Regions from separate parts of the Homo sapiens genome. Here all the other regions are linked to region 1. Evidence: promoter capture Hi-C in human tissues and cell types (Jung and others, 2019). All regions are on one chromosome and are shown on one strand. Each heading gives the region's core, a stretch centred on a gene start or on the middle of the fragment in contact. The rest is flanking DNA. Distances are from core to core; before and after follow the strand shown.

The links. Contacts are between HindIII fragments. The study calls those that stand out against the background at their distance.
Region 2: a fragment that was not itself captured here is called in contact with the fragment with the promoter of STAP2 in region 1 in 3 of the 25 tissues and cell types used here (dorsolateral prefrontal cortex, mesenchymal stem cells and pancreas).
Region 3: a contact is called between the fragment with the promoter of MAP2K2 here and the fragment with the promoter of STAP2 in region 1, in 1 of the 25 tissues and cell types used here (dorsolateral prefrontal cortex).

What each region holds. Positions count from the first base shown.
Region 1 is chr19:4,337,540-4,340,239 of GRCh38, reverse strand. It overlaps STAP2 (signal transducing adaptor family member 2), which reads left to right and starts at 1,413. Exons shown (of 13, transcript NM_001013841.2): 1 at 1,413-1,588. The coding sequence starts at 1,487. The HindIII fragment of the contact is 19,957 bases long and covers 1-2,700 here.
Region 2 is chr19:4,201,878-4,204,577 of GRCh38, reverse strand. ANKRD24 (ankyrin repeat domain 24) reads right to left here. Exons shown (of 22, transcript NM_001393985.1): 6 at 2,488-2,552; 7 at 1,652-1,709. Among named protein-coding and RNA genes, the nearest start is that of ANKRD24, 21 kb to the right of the region's middle. The HindIII fragment of the contact is 4,087 bases long and covers 1-2,700 here.
Region 3 is chr19:4,122,869-4,125,568 of GRCh38, reverse strand. It overlaps MAP2K2 (mitogen-activated protein kinase kinase 2), which reads left to right and starts at 1,447. Exons shown (of 11, transcript NM_030662.4): 1 at 1,447-1,785. The coding sequence starts at 1,694. RefSeq lists silencers at 1,295-1,414, 1,605-1,854. The HindIII fragment of the contact is 9,633 bases long and covers 1-2,700 here.

The DNA of each region.
Region 1 (2,700 bases), core at 164-2,663:
ACACAGTGAAACTCCATCTCTACTAAAATAAAAATACAAACAAATTAGCTGGGCATGGTGGCACGTGCCTATAATCCCAGCTACTCGGGAGGCTGAGGCAGGAGAATTGCTTGAACCTGGGAGGCAGAGGTTGCAGTAAGCCGAGATCGCTCCACTGCACTCCAGCCTGGGTGACAGAGTAAGACTCTGTCTCAAAAAAAAAAAAAAAAAAAGACCAGCCTGGGCAACATAGCAAGAACCTGTCTCTAGTAAGTGTAAAAATTAGCTGGGCGTGGTGGCAGGCACCTGTAATCCCAGCTACTTGGGAGGCTGAGCCAGGCGAATGGCATGAACCTGGGAGGCGGAGCTTGCAGTGAGCCGAGATCACGCCACTGCACTCCAGCCTGGGCTACAGAGCGAGAGTCTGTCTCAAAAAAAAGAAAAAAAAAAATTAGCCAGGTGTGGTGGCATGCAACTGTAGTACCACCTACTCTGGAGGCTGAGGCTGGAGGATCACTTGAGCCTGTAAGGTCGAGGCTACAGTGAGTCATGATCGCCCCACTGTACTCCAGCCTAGGCAACATAGTGAGAACTCATCCTTAAAAAAGGAAAATAAATTAGCTGGGTGTGGTGGTGCCCACCTATAGTCCCAGCTCTTCGGGTGGCTGAGGCAGGAGGACCGCTTGAGATTGGGAGGTCAGGGCTGCAGTGAACTATGATCGTGCCACTGCACTCCAGCATCGACAACAGAATGAGACACCGTCTAAAAAAGAAAAATTGCAGATGAAATTAAAGTTGCTAGTCAGCTGACTTTAAAATAGGGAGAGTAGCGTGGATTATCCAGGTGGGCCCAATGTAATCATTAGGGTCCATCAAAGTAAGAGAAAGGGCCAGGTGTGGTGGCTCATGCCTGTAATCTCAGCACTTTGGGAGGCTGAGGCGGGCAGAAAACTTGGGGTCAGGAGTTCGAGACCAGCCTGGGCCAACATGGGGAAACCTCGTCTCTACTACAAATACAAAAATTAGCCAGGCGTGGTGGCGGTCACCTGCAATCCACGCTAGTCAGGAGACTGAGCTTGGACTCAGTCTCTGAACCCGGGAGGCAGCGCAGTCTCTTGAACCCGGGAGGCAGAGGTCGCAGTGAGCCAAGATCATACCACTTTACTCCAGCCTGGGCAACAGAGTGAAACTCTGTCTCAAAATAGGAAAAATAGATAAATAAATAAATAAAGAGACAGACCATGTCTCTGTCTTTGCAGATATAGCGAAGATTATTCTCCCATTCAAGTAGACTTATACATTCTCTCTGTTCTCAGTTCCACACCGGAGAGGCGGGGATTTCCCTAGGATCACTGGACCTGCTGGGATCAGCCTCTGCCCAGCCCTGGCAGGGGAGGGAGTTGACGGGCTGACACAGGAAACTCCCCTGAAACCTGTTTCTCAGCTTCCCGGCCCAGCTGGGGCACCCACTGGAAGGAGAGGCCAGGCGGAAGACCCTGGCTCCGTCATGGCCTCTGCCCTGAGGCCACCCCGTGTCCCCAAGCCTAAGGGTGTCCTGCCTTCACACTACTATGAGAGCTTTCTAGAGAAGAAGGGGCCCTGTGACCGGGTAAGGTGGGGAGGCGGGGGCTGGCCCTGCTGGGCCACCGTGGGGAGCTGCGGCACCTCTCTGAGTCCCTGTCTCCCCACTCGCCAAGGGGGGGCGGGGTGGGTGCTGGATGGGGCAGGACACGTGCTGGGGGACTGGGGTGGGTTCTGGCCATCTGCCTCTCTGTGCGTCTATCTCTGTCTCCGTGTGTCTTTGAATTTGGTTTCTTTTTCTCTTTCTCTCTCCCTGGCCCCGTCTGTCTCTCCCGATGTCTGTCTCAGTCTCCCTCTCTCTTTGTCTCAATCTTTGCTTTTGTCTCTCGTTCACTCTCTTGAATACAAACAAGATCAGGGACTTCCTCCAGGAAATGGGGAGTCCTCTGACTCCCGAGCTTCCTCCCGCTCCCAGCCCAGGAAAAACTCCGTGAACCTCAGCTGCTGGGGCGAAGGCCAGGACAGGTGACATGTGAGGACAGTAAGAGCTAGCGGGGGCCACATTCCACAGGACAGATAGTTGCCATGGACAGTGCGTGCATGTGTGTGTGTGTGTGTGCTTATGTCTCCCTCAGAATAAAGTCCCAGCCCCTCCGTTCCCCGTGAGGCCCTATCTCTCCTTCCCAATGCCGCATATTCATTTTCTTTCTTTCTTTTTGTTAGAGACAGAGTTGCTCTGTCACCCAGGCTAGAGTGCAGGGGCACGATCATGGCTCACTGTAGCCTCAAACTCCTGGGCTCAAGTGAACCTCCCGCCCCAGCCTCCTGAGTAGCTGGGACCACAGGCATGCACTGCCTCTTCTGGCTTTTATTTTATTTATTTATTTTTGAGACTGAGTCTCACTCTGTCACCCAGGCTGCAGTGCAGTGGCACCATCTCGGCTCACTGCAACCTCCACCTCCCAGGTTCAAACGATTAAGCGATTCTCGTGCCTCAGCCTCCCGAGTAGCTGGGATTACAGGTACGCACCACCACACCTAATTTTTGTATTTTTAGTAAAGACAGTGTTTCATTTTGTTGGCCCGGCTGGTCTTGAACTCTTGACCTCAGGTGATCCACCTGTCTCGGCCTCTCTAAATGCTGGGATTACAGGCATGAGCCACCGCACCCAGCCTTTTTTTTTTTTTTTTGAAGATGGG
Region 2 (2,700 bases), core at 201-2,700, 140 kb after region 1:
TGGATTAGGTGATTATGAGGGTACCAGCTGCCTGGAGCTATGGTTTTCCTGGTATCTCCTAGGGGCTCCACAAAGGAAATTAAACCCTAGGGACCTCTCCTCATCCTCACAAAGCCCAGGAGTACATTCGACTGCTCCTTGAGGTCAGACGACCTGGATTCCCTACGATTTACCTGCTGCGGACAAGTGACAGCCTCATTAAGCCTCATCAAGCCTCATCTGTGCAATGGGCTAATAGCCTGTGGTTCAAAGGGTAACCGGGATTTATGATGGGCTCCAGTGCCTGGCACACAGTAGGTAATAAAAAAGGAGAAGGGCCGGCACGGTGGCTCACGCCTGTAATCCCAGCACTTTGGGAGGCCGAGCAGGCGGATCACGAGGTCAGGAGATCAAGACCATCCTGGCTAACACAGTGAAACCCCGTCTCTACTAAAAAATACAAAAAAATTAGCCGGGCATGGTGGCAGGCGCCTGTAGTCCCCGCTACTCGGGAGGCTGAGGCAGGAGAATGGCGTGGACCCGGGAGGCGGAGCTTGCAGTGAGCCGAGATCACGCCACTGCACTCCAGCCTGGGTGACAGAGCGAGACTCCACCTCAAAAAAAAAAAAAAAAAAAAAAAAGGGAGAAGGGCCGGCACGGTGGCTCACGCCTGTAATCCCAGCACTTTGGGAGGCCGAGGCGGGCAGATCACCTGAGGTCAGGAGTTCGAGATGAGCCTGGCCAACATGGTGAAACCCCATCTCTACTAAAAATACAAAAAAATTTTAGGTGGGTGTTGTGGCATAGGTCTGTAGTCCCAGCTACTCAGGAGGCTAAGGCAGGAGAATTGCTTGAACCTGGGAGGTGGAGGTTGCAGTGAGCCAAGATTGCGCCATTGCACTCCACCCTGGGCGACAGAGGGAGATTCTATGTCAAGAAAAAAAGGAGGAGGCTAGGTGAGGTGGCTCACGCCTGTAATTCCAGCACTTTGAGTGGCCGAGGTGGGAGGATCATTTGAGCCCAGGAGTTTGAGATCAGCCTGGGCAACATAGCAAGATCCTGTATCTACAAATAAATTTAAAATATTAGCCAGGCATGGTGGTGCACGCCTGTGGTCCCAGCTACTTGGGAGTCTGAGGCAGGAGGATCGTTTGAACCCGGGAGGTCAAGGATGCAGTGAGCCATGATTGCCCCACTGTACTTCAGCCTGGGCAACAGAGCAAGACCCTATCTCATAAAAAGAAAAGGAAGGCCAGGAGCGGTGGCTCACGCCTGTAATCCCAGCACTTTGGGAGGCCAAGGCGGGTGGATCACCTGAGGTCAGGAGTTCGAGACCATCCTGGCCACCATGGTGAAACCCCGTCTTTACTAAAAATACAAAACATCAGCCAGGTGTGGTGGCAGGTGCCTCTAGTCCCAGCTACTCGGGAGGCTGAGGCAGGAAAATTGCTTGAACCTGGGAGATGGATGTTACAGTGAGCTGAGATCTTGCCACTGCACTCCAGCCTGGGCAACAGAGTGAGACTCCGTCTCAAAAAAAAAAAAAGAAAGAAAGAAAGGAGGAGACAGGAAGCTTCACAGCAGGTCAGGTCCCTAGGGCCCTGGGCAGAATAACCCCCAAGTCTAGCACCCTCTGGGCTTCGGGGTCAGGGCAGGGCTGGGCTGCACCCACCTGCATGGTGTAGGGCAGTCCACCCGCTGCTGTCCACGACGTCCACCACGCAGGAAGCCTGGGGATGGGGCGAGTCCTTTGAGGCGGAGCCATCCTTCTTGCTGCCTGATTTCTCTAGGACTGCCTTCCCTACCCTGGGCTCTGCTATACTTCAGCCTCACCCTTCCGTGGCCCCCAAGGGACTCCATTTTCATGAAAATTGGTGAGAAAAGAAAATAGCTGAGAGCTGAGAAGCAGCTGAGAATTTGAGGAGTGGCTGGGAACTCTGGGAGTGTCTGGGGCTAAGGAAGGACCCAGGGCTTGGGGAGAAACAGAGCTCAGGAAATACCTGGCATTGGGAGTATATATATATATTTTAGATGGTGTTTCGCTCTTGTTGCCCAGGCTGGAGTGCAATGGCATGATCTCGGCTCACTGCAACCTCCGCCTCCCAAGTTCAAGGGATTCTCCTGCCTCAGCCTCCCTAGTAGCTGAGATTACAGGCACACACCACCGCTCCCAGCTAATTTTTTGTATTTTTAGTAGAGACGGGGTTTCACTGTGTTGGCCAGGCTGGTCTCGAACTCCTGACCTCAGGCGATTTCACCGACCTCAGCCTCCCAAAGTGCTGGGATTACAGGCGTGAGCCACCGCGCCTGGCTTGGGAGTACATCTTAAATAGGAGAAGCATGTGGATGGTCTGAGAGTACCTGGTTATCCAGGGAGTAGCTAGGGTTCTGGAGTAAAAGGGGCCAAGGAATATCTAGGATTCATAGAGCATCTGGGGGTTCAAGGAATTGCTGGAACTCAGGAGTAGTAGGGGCCAAGGGAGTAGCTGAGATAAGACAGTAAATGACCTGCAGTAGTTGCTTCAAGCACTGTGGGTGCCCGTATTTGGCGGCCAGGTGGAGGGCATTGTAACCTGGGGAAGGAAAGAAGATTTACTGGAGCTCCAGCTATTCAAGTAGCTCCCAGCTGCTCCCCAAGCCATGTCAACTACTTGTGATGAGTTTCTGAGTCTAGCAAAGTCCGTAAACCCTAGTATTTCTCTCCTTTTTTCCCTGCAGAAA
Region 3 (2,700 bases), core at 198-2,697, 210 kb after region 1:
CTCTTCAGAACATATACCCAAAAGAACTCAAGGCAAGGACTCAAACAGATATTTGTACATCTGTGTTCATAGCGGCACGATTCACCGAAGTGTCTAGTGGCAGATAAATGGATAAGCAAAATATAGTCCATGCACACAATAGAATATTATTCAGCCTTAAAAAGGAGGAAAATCCTGACTGGGTGCGGTGGCTCACGCCTGTAATCCCAGCACTTTGGGAGATCGAGGCGGGTGGATCACGAGGTCAGGAGATGGAGACCATCCTGGCTAACACGGTGAAACCCCGTCTCTACTAAAAATACAAAAAAATTAGCCGGGCATGGTGGTGGGCACCTGTAGTCCCAGCTACTCGGGAGGCTGAGGCAGGAGAATGGCGTGAACCCGGGAGGCAGAGTTTGCAGTGGGCCGAGATCGCACCACTGCACTCCAGCCTGGGTGACAGAGCGAGACTCCGTCTCAAAAAAAAAAAAAGGGAAATTTTTCTTTTTTTTTTTTTTTCTGCTCTTTTTTGGAGCAGGGCTACCCGATTGGAAGTATGCCCGGAGTAGTCAAGTGGGTAAATTCTAACACAGGTTACAACGTGGATCTAACACAGCTACAACAGGCACCTTGAGGACGTGGCCCTCAGTGAAATATGCCAGCCACAAAGGGACAAAACCTGTGTGATCCTACTCATATGAAGTCCCTAGAATCATCAGATTCACAGGAAGTACGACGTTGGGTTCCAGGGGCTGGGGAGGGGGATAGGGAGTGAGGTTTCATAGGGGACAGTGTTTCAGTTTCGGAAGATGAGAAAATTCTGGAGATGGTGGTGGTGGTGGTTGCTTAATGCCGCTGAGCTGTGCATTTAGAAATGGTTAAAATGACAAGTTTTATGTTATGTGTATTTTATAATAAAAATGTTTCAACATGCGCATAGTAATATATGCAATTTTATTTGTCAATTAAAATAAATTTTAAAAATGTTTTAGAGTGGCCTTGTTCTGATGAAGGAGGGGGAGTAACTGACACTCTAAGGCGGTGGGGGCTAGGGGCGTGTGTCCACGCTTGCCAAAAAGATTAAATGGACTCTGGGTGGGTCTCGTCCACTGTTCTGGGGTCTTACGGGTTCTCTCAGCCCCAGCCTGGGGCACCACAGGCTCTCAGGAGTCTGGCTACCCTGCCCACCTGTGCACGACCATCACCCCAGCCTTCATCCCTCCGTCTCCTCCCCTGCTCCCGCGCCTCATGCCCCAAGCGCTTGGGCACACGCGCCGTGGTAAGGCAAGCGAGGGCGCCCGGTCCCGGCACCGCCTCGCGTCGGTCTCCGCCCCTTTCCCCTCCGAAAGGCGGCCTTGTGCTGCTGCGCAGGCGCGGCGGCTGGGGGTGGGGTCCATCGCGGCTCCCGATCCCGTTATCGCGAGAAGCCGGTCCGCGATCTTGTGGCCGCCCCTCCCCTCCCCCTGCCTCTCGGACTCGGGCTGCGGCGTCAGCCTTCTTCGGGCCTCGGCAGCGGTAGCGGCTCGCTCGCCTCAGCCCCAGCGCCCCTCGGCTACCCTCGGCCCAGGCCCGCAGCGCCGCCCGCCCTCGGCCGCCCCGACGCCGGCCTGGGCCGCGGCCGCAGCCCCGGGCTCGCGTAGGCGCCGACCGCTCCCGGCCCGCCCCCTATGGGCCCCGGCTAGAGGCGCCGCCGCCGCCGGCCCGCGGAGCCCCGATGCTGGCCCGGAGGAAGCCGGTGCTGCCGGCGCTCACCATCAACCCTACCATCGCCGAGGGCCCATCCCCTACCAGCGAGGGCGCCTCCGAGTGAGTGGGCAGGGGTCAGCCGGAGGCTTGGGGTGCACGGGGCAGGGAGCCCTCGGGGAAGGACGGGGCGAGGGGACGGGGGTTCGCGAGGAGTGCACGAGGCAGGGGGGTCACGGGGGAGGACGGGGTGAGTGGTGCACGGGGCAGGGGGTTCTCGAGGGGAGGACAGGGCAGGGGACCCTCGGGGGAGGACGGGGCAGGGGGCCCTCGGGGGAGGACGGGGCAGGGGGCCCTCGGAGGACGGGGCGAAGGGTGCACGGGGCAGGGGGGTCTTTGAGCAGTGAGATTGGGCGAGGGGAGGTCCTTGTGGTGGAAAAGATGGGGTGTGGGGTTCCTGAAGAGTGGAATTGGGATAACGGGAGTCTCTGAGTAGTGAAGTTGGGGTGAAGGATGTCTCTAAGAGGAGAGGATGGGGACAGGGGTCCCTGAGCAGCGAGGTTGAGTGAGGGGAGGTCCCTGCAGTGCAGAAGATGGGGTGTGGGGCTTCTGAAAAGTGAAGCTGGGGTGAGGGGAGTCCCTCAGTAGGAAAATCGGAATGAGGGGTGTCCCCAAGGAGAGAACAGGATGAGGCTCCCCAAGCAGTGAGATCGGGGTGAGGGGTATCTCTAAGAGGAGAGAACACAGTGTGGGGTCCTTGAGTAGTGAAATGAGGGTGAAGAGTTCCTAAGAGGAAAGGACGGAGTAAAGGTTGCCGTAGTCATGAGATGAGGGTGAGGGGAGACCCTGAGTAGGGAAATCGGGGTGCAGGGCATTCCTGAGAGGAGAGGATGGGGTGTGGGGAGGTCAGGCAGCCCCTGAGGAGGAAATCTGGGCAAGGGGGCTCCAGAGGGGAGAGGATGGGGTGAGGGGTCCCTGAGTAATGAGACTGAGATGGGGTAGGGTCCCTGGTAGGAAAAGACGGGGTAAGGGTCCCTC